7 separate regions of the Homo sapiens genome follow, and all the other regions are linked to region 6. Evidence: promoter capture Hi-C in 16 types of primary human blood cells and fetal thymus (Javierre and others, 2016). All regions are on one chromosome and are shown on one strand. Each heading gives the region's core, a stretch centred on a gene start or on the middle of the fragment in contact. The rest is flanking DNA. Distances are from core to core; before and after follow the strand shown.

The links. The method cuts DNA at HindIII sites, captures the fragments that hold promoters and counts their contacts. A CHiCAGO score of 5 or more calls a contact.
Region 1: a contact is called between a fragment that was not itself captured here and the fragment with the promoter of MAP3K9 in region 6, in 1 of 17 cell types (naive CD4 T cells). The highest score is 5.8, in naive CD4 T cells.
Region 2: a contact is called between a fragment that was not itself captured here and the fragment with the promoter of MAP3K9 in region 6, in 6 of 17 cell types (activated CD4 T cells, non-activated CD4 T cells, total CD8 T cells and 3 more). The highest score is 8.1, in activated CD4 T cells.
Region 3: a fragment that was not itself captured here is called in contact with the fragment with the promoter of MAP3K9 in region 6 in 6 of 17 cell types (activated CD4 T cells, naive CD8 T cells, total CD4 T cells and 3 more); the score reaches 7.1 in activated CD4 T cells.
Region 4: a fragment that was not itself captured here is called in contact with the fragment with the promoter of MAP3K9 in region 6 in 3 of 17 cell types (total CD8 T cells, non-activated CD4 T cells and naive CD4 T cells); the score reaches 8.7 in total CD8 T cells.
Region 5: a fragment that was not itself captured here is called in contact with the fragment with the promoter of MAP3K9 in region 6 in 1 of 17 cell types (naive CD4 T cells); the score reaches 6.0 in naive CD4 T cells.
Region 7: a fragment that was not itself captured here is called in contact with the fragment with the promoter of MAP3K9 in region 6 in 1 of 17 cell types (naive CD8 T cells); the score reaches 5.2 in naive CD8 T cells.

What each region holds. Positions count from the first base shown.
Region 1 is chr14:70,626,622-70,629,745 of GRCh38, reverse strand. All of the region lies in intron 2 of TTC9-DT (TTC9 divergent transcript), which reads left to right. Among named protein-coding and RNA genes, the nearest start is that of TTC9-DT, 13 kb to the left of the region's middle. The HindIII fragment of the contact is 3,070 bases long and covers 51-3,120 here.
Region 2 is chr14:70,950,588-70,954,135 of GRCh38, reverse strand. The region is part of intron 2 of PCNX1 (pecanex 1); the gene reads right to left. All of the region lies in intron 1 of LOC105370557 (a long non-coding RNA gene), which reads left to right. Among named protein-coding and RNA genes, the nearest start is that of PCNX1, 45 kb to the right of the region's middle. The HindIII fragment of the contact is 952 bases long and covers 803-1,754 here.
Region 3 is chr14:70,978,536-70,981,978 of GRCh38, reverse strand. PCNX1 (pecanex 1) reads right to left here. Exons shown (of 36, transcript NM_014982.3): 6 at 3,331-3,443. Among named protein-coding and RNA genes, the nearest start is that of PCNX1, 73 kb to the right of the region's middle. The HindIII fragment of the contact is 3,810 bases long and covers 1-3,208 here.
Region 4 is chr14:71,005,145-71,008,389 of GRCh38, reverse strand. All of the region lies in intron 8 of PCNX1 (pecanex 1), which reads right to left. Among named protein-coding and RNA genes, the nearest start is that of PCNX1, 99 kb to the right of the region's middle. The HindIII fragment of the contact is 215 bases long and covers 1,201-1,415 here.
Region 5 is chr14:70,582,969-70,586,371 of GRCh38, reverse strand. It overlaps MED6 (mediator complex subunit 6), which reads left to right. Exons shown (of 8, transcript NM_005466.4): 7 at 589-616; 8 at 1,429-3,151. The coding sequence ends at 1,559. Among named protein-coding and RNA genes, the nearest start is that of MED6, 16 kb to the left of the region's middle. The HindIII fragment of the contact is 2,143 bases long and covers 486-2,628 here.
Region 6 is chr14:70,807,795-70,810,910 of GRCh38, reverse strand. MAP3K9 (mitogen-activated protein kinase kinase kinase 9) reads left to right here and starts at 1,398. Exons shown (of 12, transcript NM_001284230.2): 1 at 1,398-2,145. The coding sequence starts at 1,740. MAP3K9-DT (MAP3K9 divergent transcript) reads right to left here and starts at 2,127. Exons shown (of 2, transcript NR_184164.1): 1 at 1,624-2,127. RefSeq lists a silencer at 1,197-1,836 and an enhancer at 2,777-2,836. The HindIII fragment of the contact is 10,628 bases long and covers 1-3,116 here.
Region 7 is chr14:71,046,008-71,049,541 of GRCh38, reverse strand. PCNX1 (pecanex 1) reads right to left here. Exons shown (of 36, transcript NM_014982.3): 21 at 2,437-2,578; 22 at 1,558-1,735. Among named protein-coding and RNA genes, the nearest start is that of PCNX1, 140 kb to the right of the region's middle. The HindIII fragment of the contact is 214 bases long and covers 1,616-1,829 here.

The DNA of each region.
Region 1 (3,124 bases), core at 336-2,835, 180 kb after region 6:
CTTCCTCAGCACTAACAATCCTTTCCATAGAGTACCATATTTAATAAGCTTTAAAGGTCCTTATGACCCCCTTATCTAGAGGCGAAATTAGCAACATTGTGTGTGTGGGCAAGTAGGCCACTTTAACACCTGTAGTGTTGAACTCATAGGGTTCTGAGTGGCCAGGGGCAATGTCCAATATCAAAAGAACCTTAAAAGGCAGTCCATTACTGGCAAGGTGCTTTCTGACTTCAGGGACAAAGCATCAGTGGACCCAATCCAGAAAAAGGGTTCTCATTATCCAGGCCTTCTTATCAGCCAAAAGATTGGCAGCTGGTGTTATCTTTTCCTTTCAAGGCTCAGGGGTTAGCAGGTTTATAGGTAAGGGCAGTCATGATTATAAACCCATCTGCATCTCCATAAAACAGTAGAGTTAGCCTATCCCTTCCTGCCTTAAATTATTGTGCTCACTTCCCTTCCTTACTAATAAATGTCCTTTGTGGCATTTAATTTTTAAATAGGGCACTTTTATCTGCGTTAAAAACCTGTTCAGGCAGATATCCTTTCTCCTCAATGATTTTCTTTCTTTCTGGGTTTTTTTTTTGTTTTTTTGCTTTTTTTGTTTTTTTTTTTGAGACAGAGTCTCAGTCTGTCACCCAGGCTGGAGTGCAGTGGCACGATCTCGGCTCACTGCAAGCTCAGCCTCCCGGGTTCCCACCATTCTCCTGCCTCAGCCTCCCAAGTAGCTGGGACTACAGGCACCTGCCACCACGCCCGGCTAGTTTTTTTTTGTATTTTTAGTAGAGATGGGGTTTCACTTTGTTAGCCAGGATGGTCTCCATCTCCTGACCTTGTGATCTGCCTGCCTCGGCCTCGCAAAGTGCTGGGATTACAGGTTTGAGCCACCGCGCCTGGCCAGTATGAGTGCCACATTCATAATGACATAAGTTCATCTAGTACTTTGTGGCTTATCAAGCATTTTAGCCTCATTTAGATCCTTACAATACTACCTCAGTGTGTAAGGCGAGGCAGTTTTTTATTTGTTTGTTTTTGTTTTTTTTCAAAATGGAGTTTCACTCTGTCTTTCGAGATGGAGTGCAGTGGCGCCATCTCGGCTCACTGCAACCTTTGCCTCTTGGGTTCTCCTGCCTCAGCCTCCCAAGTAGCTGGGATTACAGGCGTGTGCCTCCATGCCCAGCTAATTTTTGTATTTTTAGTAGAGATGGGGTTTCACCATGTTGGCCAGGTTGGTCTCAAACTCCTGACCTTGTGATCCACCCACCTTGGCCTCCCAAAGTGCTGGGATTACAGGTATGAACCACTGCACCCAGCCCTGAATAATATTTTATTGTATGTAATACTTTTGCTTATCTGTTCATCTGTTGATGGATATTTGGATTGCTTTCCCCTTTTGGCTATTGTAAATAGTACTGTTGTGAACATGGGGGTACAAATAGCTCTTCAAGACCTTGCTTTCAGTTGTTTTGGATTTATACCCAGAAGCTGGAGTGTTGGATCATATGATAACTTTATTTTTAATTTGGTGAGGAAAATCCATACTGTTTACCATAGTAGTTGCACCATTTTACAATCCACCAACAGTGCACAAGTGTTGCAATTTCGCCACATCCTTATCAGCATTCATTATTTTCTAAGGTTTTTTTTGTTTGTTTTTTGGCTAGTAGCTAAATATTACTGGGTGCTCAGTAATATCTCACTGTGGTTTTGATTTGCATTTCTCAGATAAACAGTGATGTTGAACGTCTTTTCATATGCTTGCTGGTCATTTTTATATCATCTTTAGAGAAATATCTATCCAAGTCCTTTGCCTATTTTTAGTTGAGTTATTTGATTTTTTGTTGTTGAGCTGTAGGAGCTCTTTATATATTCTGGCTATTAAGCCCTAATTAGATAATGATTTGCAAATATTTTATCTCATTTTATAGATGTCCTTTTCACTATGTTGATTCTGACTTTTGATACACAAAAGTTAAGTTTGATGTAATCCCAATTGTCTATTTTTGCTTTAGTTATCTGTGCTTTGGGGGTCATATTTCAGAAATCATTGCCAAGACTAATGTTAAGAGATTTTTCCCTATGTTTTCTTCTAAGAGTTTTATAGTTTTAAATCTCATGTTCAAATCTTTAATCTATTTTGAGTTAATTTTTGTATATAGTGTGAGACAGGTTTCCAACTTCATTCTTTTGCATGTGGATATCCAGTTTTCCCATCACCATTTGTTGAAGACTGTCATTCCCCCATTGAGTGGTTTTGTCATTCTTGTCAAAGATCATTTGACCGTATACATGACAGTTTATTTCTAGGCTCCATATTCTATTTCATTGTTTTGTCTGTCTTTATGCCAATAGCACACTGTTTTGATTACTGTTGCTTTATAATATGTTTGGAAATCAGAAAGTTTGAGTTTTCCAAATTTGTTCTTTTTCAATTTTTTTTTTGTTGTTGTTATTTGAGGTCTCTTGAAATTCCATATGAATTTTAGGATGGATTTTTCCATTTCTACAAAAAATGCCATTAGGATTTGATAGCCTTTGCATTGAAACTGTACATTGCTTTGGATAGTAGGAACATCTAAATAATATTAAGCCTTCCAACCATGAACAAGAAATGCCTTTCTATTTATTTCTATCTTCTTTACTCTTTTCAGCAATGTTTTATAGTTTTTAGTGTACAAGTCTTTCACCTTCTTAGTTCATTTTATTCCTAATTTTTTTTGTTTTTGATGTTATTATAAATGGAATTGTTTTCTTAATTTCCTTTTCGAATTTGTTTGTTGTTAGTGTATAGAAATGCGACTGACTTTTGTGTGTTAATTTTGTATCCTGCAATGTTGCTAAATTTATTGATTAGTTCTAATAGATTTTCTCTCTCTCTCTCTCTCTCTCTGTCTCTCTCTCTCTCTCTCTCTGTGTGTGTGTGTGTGTGTAGTCCTTAGGGCTTTCTATGTATAAAATTATGTCATCTGTGAACAGAGGTAATTTTACTTCTCCCTTTCTAATTTTGATAACTTTTATTTCTTTTTCTTACCTAATTGCTTTGGCTAGGATTGCCAATCTATGTTGAATAGAAATGGAGAGAGTAGAAATCCTTGTCTTGTTCCTCATCTAAGAGGAAAAGCTTTCA
Region 2 (3,548 bases), core at 29-2,528, 140 kb before region 6:
AGATTCATAAAGAAAAAAATAAGCCTTAAGAACCTACCTGATACTACAGACTTAAATAGCTTTGGGTAGAATTGAAATGTGAAAACAAAAGAAACATGAAACTTCAAAAAGACAATACAGAATACCTTTCTGATCTCCGTGTAGAAAATAATTCAGACACAAAAATGCTAGCCAGGCGCGTGGATCACGCCTGTAATCCCAGCACTTTGGGAGGCTGAGGCGGGTGGATCACCTGAGGTCAGGAGTTTGAGACCAGCCTGGCCAACATGGTGAGACCCCAACTCTACTAAAAATACAAAATTAGCCAGGTGTGGTGGCACATGCCTGTAATCCCAGCTACTGAGGAGGGAAGGCAAAAGACTAGCTTGAATCCAGGAGGCAGAGGTTGCAGTGAGCTGAGACTGTGCCACTGCACTCCAGCTTGGGCGACAAAAGTGAAACTCCAATTCATTAAAAAAAAAAAAAAAAAAAGAAAGAAAAAAACACAAAAAACAAAAAACCTGATTACTAAAAAGTGGTAAATTTCATTGTTCTAAATTTAAGAGTATATGATAATCATAAGAAACTTTAAGGAAAGCAAAATGACAAGCCACAAGTGGGAGATGACTGTAATATATACATAACTAATAAAGGAATAGCATGAATATATAAAAAAATAAAAAATTCCTATTAATCATTAAGAAAAAGACAGCTCCAAAGAAAAATGAAACAAAACATAAATGAGCATTGGAAAAAAGAAAAAACCTAAATGGACCATATATAAAAAAATAAAATGTTTAACCTCAGTAGTAATCAGAAAGCTTAACTGAAAGTCACAATGAGACACCTTTTACATTTCATGAATGGCAAATTTTTTCAAGACAGGGTCTTGCTCTGCCACCCAGGCTGGAGTGCAGTGGTGTGATCAAAGCCCACTGAACTCTTGAACTCCTGGTCTCAAGTGATCCTCCTGCCTCAGCCTCCCAAGTATCTGGCACTACAGGTGCACACCACCATACCTAGCTAAAATTTTTTTTTATTTTTTATTTTTTGTAAAGACAAGGTCTCACTATGTTGCCCAAACTGATCTGGAACTCCTGGCTTCAAGCTGTCCTCCCATCTCTCCCTCCCAAAGTGCTGGGATTACAGGCAGGAGCCACCTTGCCCAGCCAATTTTCTTCTTTTAAATCCCAAATCAATAGCTAAGTGAATGGAAAATTTTTAAGGTTTACCAATATCAAATGTTGATGAAGATGTGAACAATAAGGACTTTCATACACTACCGGTGAGAGTATAAACTGGTAAAATCATTTTGGCACACAGCTTGGAATTGCCTGATAAAATTGAACATGAAAATGCCCTATAAACCAGCTTACATAAACTAGATATACACATGTACCACAAGACAAAAAACACTAGAAATAATCTGAATGGCTATAAATAGAAGAATGAATAAATAGACTATGGTCTATTCTTACAGTGGCAGACTACATGTAGGTCAATATGAATAAACTCTAGCTACAAACATCACCATGCGTGAGTCAATAAAGTATAATATACTGTGCAAAAAAAAAATCTCTCATAGAGAAATGCATACTGTATGATTCTCTTAGGATGTCCTAAAGCAGACAAAAATAAATAAATATATTCAGGAATATCTACGAAGAGTGTGTAACAATAAAGAAAAGCAAGGGAGTTATTCACAAAAAATTCAAGATTATGGTTACTCCTGAAGGGAAAAGTGGAATGAAATGGGAGAGGAATGTCATGAAGCTTATATGGTATTTTTATAATGTTTTATTTCTTAAGCTGTGTGGTAGGTAATGAAGTAGTCACTTGATTATTGCTAACTTAGTGTTTGGAATACATATTTCACAATAAAAAATTTTTAAAGTAAAAGAAAATGGAAAAAACAATTCAGAAGCAATGACAAATATATATAATATCCAGAAATAATTAGAACAATTATCAAGTGTTACCATGTGTCAGGAATTATTCTAAGAACTCTCTATATATTATTTCATTTATTCATTGTAATAATCCTATGAGAGAGTTCCATTATTTTCCTCATCATTCTGACAAGAAAGCCAACTCAAAAGCTTAAGTAGCTTCTCCAATGTCTTACAATTAAGAAGCCTTGACTGACTGAGTGTGAAGTCTACATTCTGTCCACTTATCCACAATGTACGAATATGCATTTCTTAACAGAAATAGAATAGGCGTAGGAAATGTACAGAAACCATTTAAAAAATGTGAAAGGTTATAAGACATAAAAGATAAGTGAATAAAGAGATGATAAATAAAAACATAAGAAAATAAATGGAAATCTCTCATCTATATCCCTATTTTAAAAGTTGAGTTTCTACAATTTAATAGAATTGTCATCAAAATTCTAACGAAATTTTCTGGAGGATAAGCACACATGAAGATATCTCACAAAAGTAAGTATATGCATGAGAATAATCAAAATAATATCAAAAAAGGTCAGGTGTGGTGGCTCATACCTGTAATCCTAGCACTTCAGGAGACCGAGGCAGGCAGATTACCTGAGGTCGGGAGTCCAGCACCAGCCTGGCCAACATGATGAAACCCCGTCTCTACTAAAAATACAAAAATTAGCTGGGCGTGGTGGTGCATGCCTGTAATCCCAGCTACTTGGGAGGCTGAGGCAGGAGAACCGTTTGAACCTGGGAGGTGGAGGTTGCAGTGAGCCGAGATCGCACCACTGCACTCGTCTGGGCAACAGAGCAAGACTCCATCTCAAAACAAACAACCAACCAACCCCCGCCCCCCAAAAAAATAATAATATCAAAAAAGTAAAATACTGGAGTCACTCACAATGCTAAGTATTAAACATATTATAAAGCCACTATGATAAAAACAGTATGGTATAAATGAAAAAAGGCAGAAAGATGAAGCAGAAAACTAAGTTCAGAAACTAGCATAAGTATATACAGTATACTACATGAAAAAGAAAGCATCTAAATTTACAGGGAAAAAATTTGTTACTTAATGAATGGTGTTGTGATAAACAAACCTAAACAAATTAAGTTAAAATGTTTTCAAACTGACAACAATTTAAGAGTAAAAAGTAAAATGATAAAAATACTGAAAGTAGATACAAAGATCTTAATTTATTGTATATTTATATAATTTGAGGGAAGGAAAATCTTAGAAAACGTTATCAAAAGCAGAAATAACAAACACACAAAATTGGACCACAGAAAAATAAATTACAGGATATAAAGACACTGACAAATAAAATGCTATAAACTGAGGAAGAGTATTTGACACAGAAGAGCTAATATATTTTATTTAAAAAAAGTTCCAAAATCAATAGCAAAAAAAAATCCACCAATAGAAAAATATACAATTCACAGAATAACAAATATAAATGGCAATAAGAAAAATACCTCCATTTCACTAGTAATTCAAAAACGGGAATATTAAACAATAATTTATTTACATATTAAACAATATTAAACAATGAGATATCACAGTTTTTCAAAATACTAAATACTCAAGAGTTGTCAAAAGTGCAAAAAAAAGAGGCAGCTGAATTTCTGGTC
Region 3 (3,443 bases), core at 54-2,553, 170 kb before region 6:
ACATTATATTTAAAATAAATTTCACAGAGAAATAGAAGTTAAACAATTCAGAAAAAAAGCACAAAGAATAGTAAGTAAACACAAACCTCTCCACTCGGGCTATTCTTTGTAATCCATTAAGTGACACAGAAAATATGCTATAACAACAGTATTGAATCACACAGGAAATAAGTTTAAACGGTCCAAAAGAAAACGACTTCCTTAAAAGTAATACAGGCTAGAAAACACAGGACATTTTTCTACCATATAGCTTCTATGTAGTTTTCATTTCTTAAAATATTAGTCATAAAGATATGCCTTATAATTTAAAAAGAAAAATTAAGTACAAAACAAGAGATCAACAGAAAATGACTTAGTTTGAACTTAAAACATATTTCCTGTCTCAGTAATCACAAACCATTATTGATGAAATTCAGTTTTAACCAAAGAACTTGACTAATGACAGGACGTATGAAAACAATCACTTGTTACGTGACTAAAAAAGATGTTATATGACATATTACTGCCAAAATAAGGTCCATGTCACTAAATTGATGTTAATAAAAATGTTTTTCCTATTGGCATTATGTAAGAAACTAGGGAATCAGAATTTTTTATTTTTACTATTGAGTTTCACAATGGCACACTTAGACTATCTCTAGTTTATTTCTACATTTAATCACTTTCTTCTACTTTAATTTTATACCACTGAATTAGTAAGGTTAAACGACAGGCTACACTGTGCAGCATAACTAACTGGCCTTGAACAGTCACAGCAGCACTAGTAAGCATTTACTGTGTGCCAGGAACTTAACTCCTTAGTCCTCACAACAACCCTATGAGATAGATACTATAATCATCTCATTTTAAGATGAGGAAGCTGAGGTTTGTAAGTAGCTTTCCTAGAGTCACAACAGTGGAGCCCACATACTAACAAAGGTATCTGACTCCATGTCACTAAACTAGATTACCTCCTATTTTAGCATACTTTATTTTAGTACTTTAAAGTCTATTTCCTAAATTCCATCTCTCTACACTACCACCACCACCTACCTTAAAATAAAATGAAAAGAAATCGTTGGAGAACTTATCGACACCTTCATATTCTTTAGGATAAAATCTACCTATGGTTTATGCATAGGTATATGAATGGCCAAGCAGTAACATGATGGTTGACAGGTTTCAGTAGTACAGTATGTAAGGAAGGATAGCCCAGAAACATTTCTTCTAAATTGTCAGACAGGACTGTAACAGATAATGTTAACATAAACAAGTATCTTTAAACAGTATTTGAGAGTCTCTGTAATTTTTAAATAATAAGAACCAAAACAAATCCCCTTCTACCACCTCCAACCTTTCAAAAAGCCCAAGTAAACTCCCAACAAAACCCCTATATTTAGTTATGATAAAAACCAATTAAAAAACCCCCAACACATTTAAGTGCTTTAGTTTTGCTCTTATTTGTATTCTAAACCCAATGAAGCTCAAATTAAAAAAGCCTGTGCAATGCCTGCCCCAGGCAAAAAAATGTTTTTAAACAGCCCACAGACTATTACATTTCTTCCACCAAAGCAGATATTTTTATTTCATTATCTCTTATTAACATTTAATTGAGTTATTTAAATTAAAAAAAAGCAGTACAAACAAAAGAAAACAAAAGCTAGAGCCTAGAAAAACAAGGGCTAATATAGCTTAAAGAACAGCACCGAGAAGCAAATAACACCTTTCAGGTAACTTTTCCTAAAAAACAGAACACCTCACAGTCCCCATGAAAAGGAAATGACATTTTAAATATAAACGCATGAATTTACTACATATTTTTGTACACATTTTTTCAGTATTTACATTTCCACAATATTCAGAACAGCAATATTTTTCTATCATAGCATGTTGACTTAAAATTCATTTTGATAACTTTAAAAATTAAGCTATATTTTAAAATCCAATGGTTTCTTGCATACTGTGAACATATCTGATATGATTTGTGTGAGAAATCACTACAAGCATTTCAGGTTGTTTACAAAAAAAAAAAAAAAGAGAGAACTATATCCAGGTCAAAGACTCGAGGGAATTTAATTACTCTACTGTCACCAAATGGTTATAACCACTTCAGATATAATTAGTTCTCAATATTTAGGTTTGATAAACTATATTCTTCTTTAGGTACTAGAAAATTTCTTTACGTTCCCATTAGAAATTAATCTGGCTAGAAACTTGACCCCCAAAAAAATCTAAGAAAATGTTTACCACAATATGGACTTTTAAAATACTTCGGGTGAAATTAACATCTTTGAGAAAAAGCATATATTCATATGTTTCATAATGTTTGTACAAACAAAATCCAGCTTAACTTTTAATAAATGACTGAACATTACTGTATCAAACAGACTATAACTTTAAAACTAATGATACAAGCATAAATAAAGGGAATAGGGGTAGAGGCTAAAAATGCTAAGGTACTAACAACAAAAGACCTGATTTTTCTGATTCTATTCAAGAAGCAGATTCCATAAAAACCAGAACCAAATAAACAAACTATCTTGGGCAGAAGAACACAGCAAGAAATAACTCTGAAATAAAGAGGCCAACACACACTGACAGAATATAAAATCACCTATCCAAATTTGCACAATTCTCCAAAAACCTGAAATAAATAAGCTATTACTTTAACCAGAACACCATCACTGTTATTATGGGGGCATCTTACATCAATTAATGGATACCAAATGTCAATATAAACTACAAATCTGAATTTAATAAACTTTAAGAATAATGTGTGAAATTATAGAAAAAAATAGTATTTTCGTAACGCCTAAAACTTGAGTAAGCAAGAAATAAAACCAAAGATACAGACTTAAAAAAAGAGCCACAATTCTCAATGTACATAATCAGATCTAAAGTAATATTTGTAAAACTCTTATATAATAGGCTGAGTGATCTAATTTTGAAAGTTCAGTGTCATATACTGTATAAGAGTTGATTAAAACTGGTTTGGTGCCCTTAAATAATTATATATTTTATTGTTGCTATTGCTATACAAAGGAAGAGGGCTAATTTTTGTTATTCCCAGCAAAACATTAACAGGTGGCAACTGGCTTAGAAACTGGTGTTCTTGACACCATCAAGAACAAATTGACGTATTCAAGTATTGCAACCAAAAAATATGTTCTTGGTGTTCATACCAAAACCTTTTCTAAGATAATCACCTACTTCTTCATTCAAGAAAGCTTATTTTAATAACACAGTGGAAGGGGGAATATTAACAGAAGCATATTTTAGTAAGTACTACTCTAATTAATAGTATGAAAAAGCAGTGAGTCTTACAGAAATCTCTTCTTACAGTTTACTTACCTCCACTGACTGCATCTTGCTCTTCCCCTTCAGGAAATGCAACCTGGTTTGGCAAGCTATTCCTAGATCGAGTGACTGTCTCTAACTGGGAAGCCCGTCCTAATAAAGATAGC
Region 4 (3,245 bases), core at 59-2,558, 200 kb before region 6:
CCACTGCGCCCGGCCAAAACAGGAATCTTAAAGGTCAATGTTGACTTGATGGTAAGGCTAAAAGTCAGATTTTCCCATGCCTACAATGCAGAGTGTGCAATAAGGGCTTTTTATTTAAGTGAAATACTTGAAAAAATGCTAATAAAAGGACTCCATAATGTACTAATATGACTAAGAGTTTACAGAACATCTCAAGCATTACTTCATTCTTTAAAACGACTAGAACCAGGAAAAAAACAACAATTTGAATTATTTAAGTACATTCTATGGATCATAAAAGTTATGCTGTTTTCTGTAGCCACATTTTTTTTTGTCGAATAATATACTCCTAAGTTAGGGAAAAAAAGGTTTTCTGTGAAATGCTCAGGTCATTTGCTGTCTTTTTTCAAGGTTATTCAGCATGTAAATTATTTAAGACACTCCCCACCCCCATCTTTTAGTCATAAGTCATTCATCCTTAGCACCTCTAATAGAAACTGGATTAATGAGCTAAAATGAAATGATACAAGCCGTCAACTTGGCTACTTCATAGATGTATCACTGAAAGTTTTTTTAAAGTGGTAGGGTGAATTACAGAAGTTGCTACCGAAAAAAAAATAAAAAATACCGGCTCACTTAAAATTAAAAAAATTTTAATTGCAGTTTTTAATGCTCTGTTCTGTATTCATTTATTGGATAATCAATGATTAGTGCTGCTATCATAATTAAACTTAGATTAAGAGAAAAAAGAAATATCTGCTCAAAATCATGGATTACATAAATGCAGAATTATTGTTAACTACATTAAATGACTAAATCATGGATTAACAAAGAGCAAAGAGGGCTTGGTTACTGCATATGAAACTCAGTAAGAACAGAATGCATAAATGTATTGTCATAACATAATTTATACATATTTTAGAAATAAGTTAATTCTGTATTCAATAGAACTTAAATTGTTGCAGTATTTCTCAGCATTCAAGCTTTCCAAAGGATTTTTATTAATATATAAGTTCTGTTCTTGGTATATTAAAAATAATATGTATCTGTGACAAAATCAACTAAAGATATTATCTTTGTAATTTTCAAATGAAACAGTAAAAGAATATGATGTCATTATACTACCATGTTGTCTTTTATGTATAAATATCTAATATTAAATTTACATAGAAATAGTTGCATTTTAAATAAATAAACATAAAGAATGCAAAAAAAAAAGCTTTTCTAAACAGACAGTTGGAAAAATTGAGTAGTTCTATTACTACCTGAATTTACAACTCTGAATGATTCTATCCAAATTACTAACAAGTAATAAAATCTAAAAATGTAAGCAGAAGCATAAATATGTCTAAAAGAGAGGCTATGATTTTAACAGAAGTACATGACTTCAACAGTGCTTTTCTTTTTTTCCTTAAGAGGCTTTTGTCTATTAAGCTTCAGAAGCATGTTTAGGTTCTTAAAAATACGCATGGCATTTGTCAGAACAAACTAACACTGTAATAAGGCCTCATGGTGTAGTCCCAACTTCACTCCAAAAGAACAAGTCTATGTACTTTAGAAGTACCAAATTTTACTCTGAAGATAAACACACCAGAAAAAGAAATTACTAAATGTAATTTAATGTGCTAATGTATCCTACTGAAGGCAGCTTAAAAAATAACCAACCAGAAATAAATATATATTACTATTGGTTTATGAAGATTACGTTTGTACAAGTTTTCTTGGCATACACAGCAATTTTACTATTTCTTTTGAGATTAAAACCATCATATTTAAACTTTAGATCTGAAGTAAAATATGCCGTTACAATACCCCTATTTTAATATTATTCTGCCTTAAGAAAAATACTTCAATACTAATTTTTTCTAATAAACAGAGTAGAAAGCAGAGCAAAGAAATATGTCCTTCTCACATGAATTTGGATTATAAACTAAGCCATCTCATCATGATTCAACTGTGACCAATTAATTATACCTGATAGAATGCCTCTGTCATGACTTAAGGAGAAAAAAAAATCAGTTTCTAACAAAATAAACACGATTAGAAACTGGAATTTCAGACTTGTAAAAATTATACTGGCCAAGGGACTGCATCTCTAAAGACACATACACAAAAAGCTGATATGCCAGGCGCAGTAGCTCATGCCAGTAAATCTCAGCATTTTGGGAGGCAAAGTGGGAGGACTGCTTGAGCCCAGGAGTTCAAGACAAGCCCAGGCAACATAGTGAGACCTCATCTCTACACACACACACACACACACACACACACACACACACACACACACACACACACACACACACACACACAGACACACACACGTACTAGCTGGGTGTGGTGGCATGTGCCCATGGGCCTAGCTACTTGGGAGGTTGAGGTAGGAGGATCACTTAAGCCTAGGAGGTTGCGGCTGCAGCGAACTGTGTTCATGCCACCGCCCTCCAGCCTGGGCAAGAGAGTGAGACCCTGTCTCAAAAAAAAAAAAAAAAAAAGTTAAGATACCTAGTATTTCTTAGCAGTCTTATTGAATACTCAATAGTGACTGTTATTGTTCATAAAATTTGTTAATTACACACAACCATTCTTTTGAAGTAATATTTCAAAGTAACAACTATAGGTCAATGAATAAGTGATGAGCAACAGGAAGATGAGTAAAACTGGATACTCACTTAACACCAAGGATACTTGAAGCATTTGCCTAGAGCCATGAATGGTGCAGCAGGCAAATTCTGATAAACATTCACAAGACACTGATAAAAGACATGGGAAATGAATGGGATTCTCTAACTTACCCTATCAGTAAAAATCCTCACCATACAAAACGAAGTTGAGTACATCAAGAATTTTAAGAACAGTACTCACCTAAGAAACTCCAATTGCATTCCCCACCCCCCCTTTTTTTTTTTTAGACAGAGACTCACTCTGTCACCCAGGCTGGAGTGCAATGGCACAATCATAGCTCACTGCAATCTCAAACTCCTAGGTTCCAGTGATCCTCCCACCTCAGCTTCCTGAGTAGCTGGGGCTGCAGGCACACGCCACAGTGCCTGGCTTACTTTTTAAAACTTTTTTGTAGAGATGGGGGTCTTGCTATGCTGCCCAGGCTGGTCTCGAATTCCTGGGCCTAAGTGATACCTCCTGCCTCAGCCTCCCAACGTGCTGGAATTACAGGTGTTAGCCACCACGCCCAGCCTGTTGCATTCTTGACATCACTCATTTTTCTAAAGTTACCTATATGTATCTTGGAAGGAGGTGGTTACTAGAACAAC
Region 5 (3,403 bases), core at 308-2,807, 220 kb after region 6:
TTAATCAAGTGAAAGAATTGCTTGCAGAGTGAAGGACCTGACCTTGTTTCTAACCTCTAATGCTCTTATCTTTTTTTCCTATAGATTGGTTTTTAATAATAGACTCATCAGAAATCTCTTTTCCCTCCAAATTTCCCATGCCTACCAACTTTAAAAGTCATGGTTCATCCATACTTCATTCTCCCTTCCCATAAGTCATAACCCCTAAGGAAATAAGACTCTGGGGTATTGAAAGACTTATTATTTCTTCCCATTGGATTCTACTGAACTGCTTTTTATAAAGCATTGTAGCCTGGGTGTGGAGGTGGAAGTCTTTGTTAAATGTTCAAGTGTTTTTATGGTTGGTTGACTATCTTGTTCTAGTTTTTGATTTGTGTCTTTTCTGGAATGGGGAATAAGAAGTAGAAAATGATAAATTTACTTTATAGTACATACATAGTAGCTTTTCTTCACAAAGTCATTTGAAATGTAATTTGGATGAAGCTTTCATTTTATTAATATGACATCAGGAAGAAGAAATTTTGCCAAGTTGACCTGTTTTCTTCTTTTTCCTCTTCCTCTCCCTCCCTTTTTTCTAAAAAATTATAGCTAAAGCCTGGAGAAAAGCCTGTTCCAGGTATGGTTCATGTAATATTCTTATTACGCTTGAAATAAGGTCAAACAGCTTGTAAATCAATCACAAGTATAGCATGTGAAATGAGCTGTGGTCATTTTGTCCTTCTAGAGCTGGGGCTGGGTCTCATTGGAAGAAGAATTGTCTTGGGTCACACATAAAATAACACTAATGATGGCTGATGAGCTGAAAAAAAAAAAAAAGTCTCATAATGTTTTAAGGAAGTTTACAGATTTGTGTTGGGCCACATTCAAAGCCATCCTGGGCCTCATGCTGCCCGTGGGCGGTGGGTTGAACAGTCTTGTTCTAGAGTCTCCCATTGTAGTTTTTTACTCTTAATCTTTGAGAGCTGCTGAACTGTCAGCAGGTGGTGCCATTGTGGTAGTGATTGTGGTAGTGAAAAGATGAATTGGGAGGGAAAAAGTAGGTATTGAGGAGGTGTGAGGAAGCCACTGTGATTCGAGGTTTCTTCATCAAATCTGTATTTTTACACAATGATGTTTTCTGTTACATTATTGAAAACAGGTATTGAACCATCATGGTACTGGGTTAGAATAATTATATATCTTGTTTTTACATACTGTCTTACTTAAATGCTATGTAGTTTTGTCTAGTATCATTAATTTCCTTGAGTTTTCAGGTTGTTAGGTTTGTAACTGGGTTCTTGTATACATCTGCCTGGGGAAACAGCTAGATCTAGAACTTGAGATAAGCAGTTAAAAATGAATTTGAAAATGTGAGCCATTCATATTAACCATTTATCTCATTCCCCCCACCCATATCTCCCTCCCAAAAAATCTACTTTTGATATCTAGTGGATCAAACAAAGAAAGAGGCAGAACCTATACCAGAAACTGTAAAACCTGAGGAGAAGGAGACCACAAAGAATGTACAACAGACAGTGAGTGCTAAAGGCCCCCCTGAAAAACGGATGAGACTTCAGTGAGTACTGGACAAAAGAGAAGCCTGGAAGACTCCTCATGCTAGTTATCATACCTCAGTACTGTGGCTCTTGAGCTTTGAAGTACTTTATTGTAACCTTCTTATTTGTATGGAATGCGCTTATTTTTTGAAAGGATATTAGGCCGGATGTGGTGGCTCACGCCTGTAATCCCAGCACTTTGGGAGGCCATGGCGGGTGGATCACTTGAGGTCAGAAGTTCAAGACCAGCCTGACCAATATGGTGAAACCCCGTCTCTACTAAAAATACAAAAATTAGCCGGGCGTGGTGGCGGGCGCCCATAGTCCCAGCTACTCGGGAGGCTGAGACAGGAGACTTGCTTGAACCCGGGAGGTGGAGGTTGCCCTGAGCTGATTATCATGCTGTTGCACTCCAGCTTGGGCGACAGAGCGAGACTTTGTCTCAAAAAAGAAGAAAAGATATTATTCCCATCATGATTTCTTGTGAATATTTGTTATATGTCTTCTGTAACCTTTCCTCTCCCGGACTTGAGCAACCTACACACTCACATGTTTACTGGTAGATATGTTTAAAAGCAAAATAAAGGTATTTGTATATATTGCTTCATCATGACTTTTTTCTTCATCATAACTGATATTTTTCAGATGCACTTTGAAGACATAAAGGATGTTAAAGTAGTAACTAAGCATATTTCTTTTTGTTCAGTTACATAATCCTCAGTATTAAAATAAACAGTTGCTGACATTTTGGAAGATGAAGAAAAGGAAAAACCTCACTCACCAATACCATTACCCTATAAATACTGTAACAGTGTTGTGAATTTTAATCTTATTCTGTGTGTAGATACTTCTTTTTTCAATAAAGAAAAGGAATTTTATTTTTTTTAAAGTTATGGAGGCTGAGAAGTCCAGCATTGATTGGCTCCATCTGGTGAGGGCCTTCTTGCTGGTAGGAAGTCTGCAAAGTCCCTAGGCAGCACAGGGTATCTCATGGCAAGGGGGCTGAGTGTGCTTGCTGCATGTAGATGCTTTTAAAACTGTACTTTAATCATTCCTTTCGTACAATTTTACTTTATTATATCTGTTGTAAGCTTTTCCCCATGTTTATGTAGTTTTTATAGACTGTTTTAGTGTCCGAATTTCTGTAAATGATTGTATCTCAGTTTTCTTTCTGTCTTATATTTGGGATTTTTCCCAGTTTACATTATTTTATATAAGACTGCTGTGATTATATCTTTGTATAATGCCTTTTCAGTGTTTGGTATTTATTTCCTTAGGATAGAGTTCCAGAAGTGGAATCACTAGAGTCTCTGCATTTTTATTGCTCTTAGTCCATATTGCTAAGTTGTTCCTCAAAATGTTGGACTAGTGATCACTCAAACAGCGAAGTTTGAAAGTATGTATCAGGTTTTCCAGAATTGCTACCACTGAATTTTGTCATTTATGTTTTTAGTGTTAAGTAGCAAAAGTGGTATTTTAGTATTTAAAGTAGTTGAAGAATTTCTCATCTTTTTCTGCTTTTATGAAATGTCTAATTTTATGTATTGTGTGAGATTTTTGTCTTTCAACTTCTTATTTTGACATAATTTCCGGCAAACAGAAAAGTTGTAAGAATAGTACAAAGAATTCCTATATATACCTTTTACCCTACTTCTCTATCTGTTACCATTTTTCTGTATTTTAGTCTTTATTTTCTTTCTCTCTTTCTTCTGTCTCTGACTCTTGCTCTCCTGTCGCTGTTTCTCTCTTTCTCTCTCTCTCTTTCGATGTTATTTGTGTTTCACCAGTGGTGCCAATAATGTCATTTACAACAGAAGAAAATCCTGAGTTATGGGCCACATTTAGTTGTCCTGTCTTTTCAGTCTCCT
Region 6 (3,116 bases), core at 149-2,648:
GAGGCCGAGGCAGGTGGATGACTTCAGCCCAGAGTTCAAGACGAGCCTGTACTTCCAGCTACTCGGGAGGGTGAGGTGGGAGGATGGCTTGAGCCTAGGATGTTGAGGCTGCAGTGAGCCGAGATTGCGCCACTGCACTCTGGCCTGGACAACAAACTGAGACCCTGGAAGAAAAGAAAAGAAAAGAAAGGAAAAGAAAAGAAAAGAAAAGAAAAGAGAAAAAAAGATCAGAGAACCTTTCTTACTGGAAGTCAACGTTGCCACGACAGGATTAAAGCAAGAAGAAACATTATGGGCCTCCTATCTCGTCCTTAATGTTCAAAACGCAGGGTATAGCAAAGCATATAGGAAGAGGTCGTCCTCACTCGTGAACTCAGCATCGGGTTCTACGTTTATTCTGCTTTGGTTCTTCTTAATCTGACCTCTATAGACTTCGCCACGATCCAAGGTGTAATTCCAACAGGCAAAAGAAGTCTAAGGATTGTCGAAAAGGTGGCTCCCTTCAGACAGACCAAGCCCAATTCATGGCAGCGTTCCCAGCCCCAGTTTGAAGCTCAGTAAGGTGGTCTCTTGCCTTTCTGAATTCTGAAAAAAGAGTGGTATTGGAATCTCTTCTTACCGGAACCCAGGAGAGGGCGAGCTGTGGTGCAGTCCTCATAAAGGGGAGAACTGTAGTTTTCAGAGTTCTAATGAACATCCCAATGGGCCTAAAAGGCTTCAATAAGAGATGAAAGGTTCCGGGTGAGAGTGGGCGTGGGCGAAGCTGATCCCTCTAGGTCGGACTAAGGCAGAGCCAGATCCAAGAGGGAGAATCCAACTGTAAAAGGGATCTGGGGAAGAAAGAGCTCTGTTGGGGGTGCAGCCGGATGAAGAACACCGGTGCTGCTCAGTGCAGCCCCTACCCATCCATGGCAAACAAAGGCAGCTGCCTCCCTTCCAGCCTTTTAGTTTGAATGAAGGCTCAGTATTACCTTTTAGGATCCACCCTTCCCTTCTCACGCACCCAATGAGGCCGGAGCCTCTTCCTGCCGGGAGGTGCTGAACTCTCCCAGGAAACGGACAGGTGCCGCGAGCCAATGGAGGGAGCTGCGGCGGGCCAGTGGGCGGGAAGAGTGGGTCGACCTGGGTTTGAGAATGACAGAGCCCGCAATGGGGGAGGGCACGGTGCGACGGCGGCGCAGGGGGTGAGAGGGACCTGCGAGACGGCCAGCTAGGCTGCCCCAACCACGGCGGAGGAACCGGGGACTGGGCGGCCGCAGCCAATGGGAAGGCAGCGGGCGCGGGGCGGGGCGGGCGTGGGGCGGAGCCCCCTGGGGTCCGCAGGGCTGGGGCGGAGCCAGGCCCGCGTCAGGTGGTCCCGGCGAGCTGGCGGTGCGGGGGGCGGGGCACGGCACGGCGCGGAGAGGAGAGCGGCGGCCGGCTGGCAGCGGCGGGCACCGGCTGCGCGAGCAGGTACCGGCGGCAGAGGTGACGAGGCCGCCCCCGGGGGGGCGAGCGGGCAGGCGGGGACTCGGCCCGCTGCGCCCCTAGGCTGCGCGAAGAGCTCGCGCTCGGCGCTCTTCTCGTACCGCGGTAACAGCGCCGGCGAGCCGGCTCTCCCAGCCCTGCCAGCCCGGGCCCTACCTGCGGCCGCCGTCGTTGGGGGGGGGTCCTCCCAGCTCTGCGGAGGCGCATGAACAATAGGCGGCGGCGGCTCCTGCGGGCGGCGGCGGCCCCGCACCCTATGGATCGGCCGCTCCATGGAGCCCTCCAGAGCGCTTCTCGGCTGCCTAGCGAGCGCCGCCGCTGCCGCCCCGCCGGGGGAGGATGGAGCAGGGGCCGGGGCCGAGGAGGAGGAGGAGGAGGAGGAGGAGGCGGCGGCGGCGGTGGGCCCCGGGGAGCTGGGCTGCGACGCGCCGCTGCCCTACTGGACGGCCGTGTTCGAGTACGAGGCGGCGGGCGAGGACGAGCTGACCCTGCGGCTGGGCGACGTGGTGGAGGTGCTGTCCAAGGACTCGCAGGTGTCCGGCGACGAGGGCTGGTGGACCGGGCAGCTGAACCAGCGGGTGGGCATCTTCCCCAGCAACTACGTGACCCCGCGCAGCGCCTTCTCCAGCCGCTGCCAGCCCGGCGGCGAGGACCCCAGTTGCTACCCGCCCATTCAGTGTAAGGCGAAGGCGGGGCCGGGCGGGGAGGGGGAATGACGGAGGCCTGGGGGGCGGTCGGGGAAGGGGGGAGCACTGCGCGAGGGCTGGGATGAGGGCGGGGGGTGGGGAGGACGATTGACCTGGGTGTGGGTGGCGCGCGCTTAGGCTGCCCGGGCTTTGCTTGCTGGATAAGCTCGAGACGCCTCAGGCCCTGCCCGCACTTCAGACGCTTGGGCTTCTTCACCTTCAGTTGGCCACCTCAGCAGTGGCTCCCGATTTCCACATCCTGAAGTCCCAGTCTGAGAATTTGCCAGTTTCCCAGTCCCTTCTCTTACCCACCCCCCCGCCGCCCCCCATTCCCAATCTGGAAGTGTTTATGGCAAGATGGTGGTTAGTGTCCTAGCCTTAGTCCCCAAATCAGGGACCTTGCCACCACCTCTTCTAACGCCTGTCCCCGCCTCCTAAAGGCATTTGCTTTCAAAGAGATGGGGGTGTCTCCGCAGGGCTGAGCTGGCTCACAAGTCCCGGAAGCATGTGTGAACTCAAGGCTCAGTTGCCTGTAAAATGTCGGGTTGATTTCTTGGATCCTATTTCTTATATCTCAGAAGTTGTACCTTTAGGAGTCTCACTGATTAATGTGCTAAGAGGGATGTGTGTGTTGAGAGTGGGGGTGAGACAAGTGATGATTAGAGAGGAAAAAGTATGTCGTTCCCCCATGGGAGATCAGGATTGCAAGGTACAGTGGCTGAATCCCAGTCCTTTGACAGTGAGGCTGTTTGGGAAATACATTTTCTTCTTTCTTCTCATTCTAGATCCTTGCCTATCTTTGGAACTGGTCAAATCTCAGGGGGACCATGCTCAGGGGTCCCTCCCAGGGCCTTTCTCCCAGTGTCCTGGTTTCCGTCAATTTTCCAGGAGCCCCATATTTCATACCCTATAATGAAATCTTCTTTTTTTTTCAAGGGAGTTAAATTGCCATCACAATCCCTT
Region 7 (3,534 bases), core at 473-2,972, 240 kb before region 6:
TATTCCAATTTTGACTATAATATTAAAGAAAAGAACAATATGTAACAATATGTAAAGGATGGTAGGCAAAGGGATTTCTGTATACATTTAATTTTTCTTAAAAGGTTATTAAATCCATGATGTACCTTACAATGATATCTTAATGTAAAAAATGTATCTGAAGAAATCCCTTGAATATTACTGATTATCATTGTTAAATTCTATCTACTGACCAATTTAAATACAAACTCAAGGGGAAAGCTTTCTCTATTTTGTTCATTGGTGTAGCCTAAGCATCTAGAACAGTTCTAAAACAGTTTTTTGTTTTAAAAAATATATTTAACAAATAAAAAGTATTAAGAAAATCCAAACTAATGCAGAGTTAAGTGTAGCAACTACATTTCAAAGATTATTTACTTTATATTTTACTGCAACTTTCACTTTTTTCCAACCAGTATAAGATGAAATACAATTTTCAATCTAAATATTTGAGTTTGTGGGAAACCACATGCTTCTTTATACAATTCTCTGATTAATTTTCTGGCTTCCTCCTTTGGTTAATAACCATACTCACTAGAAGAGGAAATAAATGATAAAAATACAAATTAGTGACTGAACAGATATAATATTGAAATATTTTAGAAGCTATTTATCACAATACTGAAATTGACTATCAATGAAACTTTGCTCAAATTAACGGCTTTCCATTTTTACTGTTCCCCATCCTAGATCAGACTACTATCACATCTGAATTACTGTCATTATCGCTTAAGCTGTTCTCTGTACCTTTAGGTTCTCTCTTCCCCAAATGAAGCCAAATGTGGCTGACCAGGCTAACTTCCCTAAAACTGGAATTTCATTGTGTTTTGTAGCTGTTCATTTGCTTCAGCTCTCTGTTACCTATCAAATGGGATAATGTATGTCAAAGTCCTTTGTATGTGGTCAGTGTTAACATGAAATTGAATTACTATTTCACTGACAAATAATCTGACTGTACAGCCTATTTCACTGAGAAAGGTAGTGTGATTCAGCAAAAAGATTCTTGGGTTAGGAGGCAGAGGACCAAGGTTTTACCATCTTATTTGTAAAAGGCCTAGAACATCTATCTTATGGGTGGATAATGAATTTTAGCAGAAGCCTATAAAGTTCAGAGTATTCTGCAAATATCACATCAAGCTAATTTCTGACTGCTCCCACCTAGCCTCAGTCTCCTCAGCCTCTACCTGCTTCATTGGGCTATGCCAGAGCCCAATTCAATTATTACCACTTCTGTTTCTAAAATTATTCAAAACTATATACCTTTTGAGAGATTCTATATATTTTAAAATATACTTATTAATGTTTCTCTAATTGTTTTATGTAACTTTATCTTCTTAGCTATAGCAAGAAATATATCTTTTATAAATCACAGTGACTATCTTTGTTTAGGGATTCTAATGTGCTCCTAAATAACTGGTTGAAGAGAGTTATTACTTAAACAATAATAAATCACATGAAATATAAGAAAAATTCTGACTAGCATATAACCCAGGGAGATAGTTTTTATAGATAAGGATATTCCTTTCAGTGATAAATTACCTTGTTGAAGAGTATGGACATAAAGAAGAGATCCAACAGCATGGTCTCTGAAAAAGCTTCATAGTCAAATTTGAAAAACAGCACAGTAAAGATGACTGTAACATACTGATATGTAGGGCTGCTAAAAGAGGATCGTAGCAACTTCAAACCAGCAACAGTGATCATTAAAGCACCTAATCTGTGGCACAAAGAAAACACAAATCAACTCATGACTGAAAACATTAGAAGAGACAGTAACTTAAAATAAAATTCACCATTTACTTTACTAAGCTTATAATATATACATTAAATGTAAGCTTCCAAAAATGATGTATAGAGCTAGGTAAATCACATCCTGAAAGTATCTGACTATTCCCTTTTAATACTATTCATTATGATTCTTATCCTTTATATGAAGGACTATGTTTTAAAAATAATAGTATTGTAATTCTGACATCTGATTCTCTAGTTTCTCAATATTTCTATTACTTTAACACCAACTGCATTTAGCAAATGAAAAACATATTAATGCTTGACTCAACAATAGGTACCTACTCTATTGGGCAGGCTCATCGGATGACTATGGAGGCAACTGACCATCTATATGGTGTAAGTTACATAGTGCATCAAAATAGCCACATAATATTAAAAATTAACCTTATTTTAAAATGTCCTCTCATAAAATATCAATTGACAATGAGATGTCTGGAGTACAGAATATGCCAACAGCAGAAACAAATGTTTAAAAAAGGTAAGTCAAGGACAAAATGTCACCTAAATTTTTAATCTCACAGTGCCTTGCATGAAGGAAACAATTATTTAATATTTGATCAACAACTTAAGACATTGTTTATAACAGCCCCCAGTAGTCAGACAATATTAGAAGACTACTATACTTACTCTGTATTCAGTTTCTTTGGACTAGCAATTGTCTCTGCACTGCTGCTCAGTTCATTGAGAACAATCAATGGATAGATTATATTCTTCTCCACAAAAAGAAGCCACACATGAAGTTTCTCAAACCACATCATAGTGGCTGCATCTAACAAGGCAGTATAAATCAAGACTACATGTCATCAAATGTATAGTTTGTCAATGTGATGAGAAAGAAAAATTTTACAACAAATTTAGTACCAAACTACAAATAAACTGTTTTTAAAAAGCCAGTACTTTAATCAACTGTCAACTTCTATGAGCTCTGAGATACTTACAAATTTGCAACTTAGACATGATTTAACATTTAGATGAGTTTCCAACTTTAATTCTTGAAACCTCAGTTTTTAACCATAACTTTTCTCATTTATGCTTATAACTTATTGAAAAAAGATTACTGAAGATCATTAGATTGCTCTTTCCACCCAAAATAAATAAAAATATGGTATGATTTGAATTCACATACTTAAGAGCAGCTTTCATTGCCAATAATATTTTTTTCCAATGCTACAATATTATTTCATTGGGGAAAGTGTCTAGGATAAACTAAAAGATTTAAAACATGGTTCTTTGGCTATCTGAAAATAGCATCACCTGGCTTTAGGAAGTTCTCTAAGAAATAATATTTTTTCTTTCAGTTGCTAAAATCAGTACCAGAAAAAAAAACAACTTTGCTGTTAGTACTATAAATGTCAAAATGATATGCTGATTCAAAATTTGTAGACTACATGTTCTAAGATTTAAAAAATAAGATCAATAATTTATTTTAATGAAAAGTGTTGGTCTTTAAAACAAACTAGGTATGTGTCATCATTTATATATGAAAGCAGTAATAGTTCACCATTAAAAACATATCTCATTCTGAGTTATTTTCCTGATGGTATAAATGGGCCAATAAAGATTCTTATGCAGCTTCATGTCATTTTTATTTATTAGGAAGCTTTCAAAGGCTTCAGAGTTCTCTAAAAAAGTTATCTTCAAGCAACTGAATGATTTACTCTACAGTAATTAGCTAACTGAAAAAAAAAGTGTGAGAAAAAAGTTGGCTTATTTAATCATTGGTAT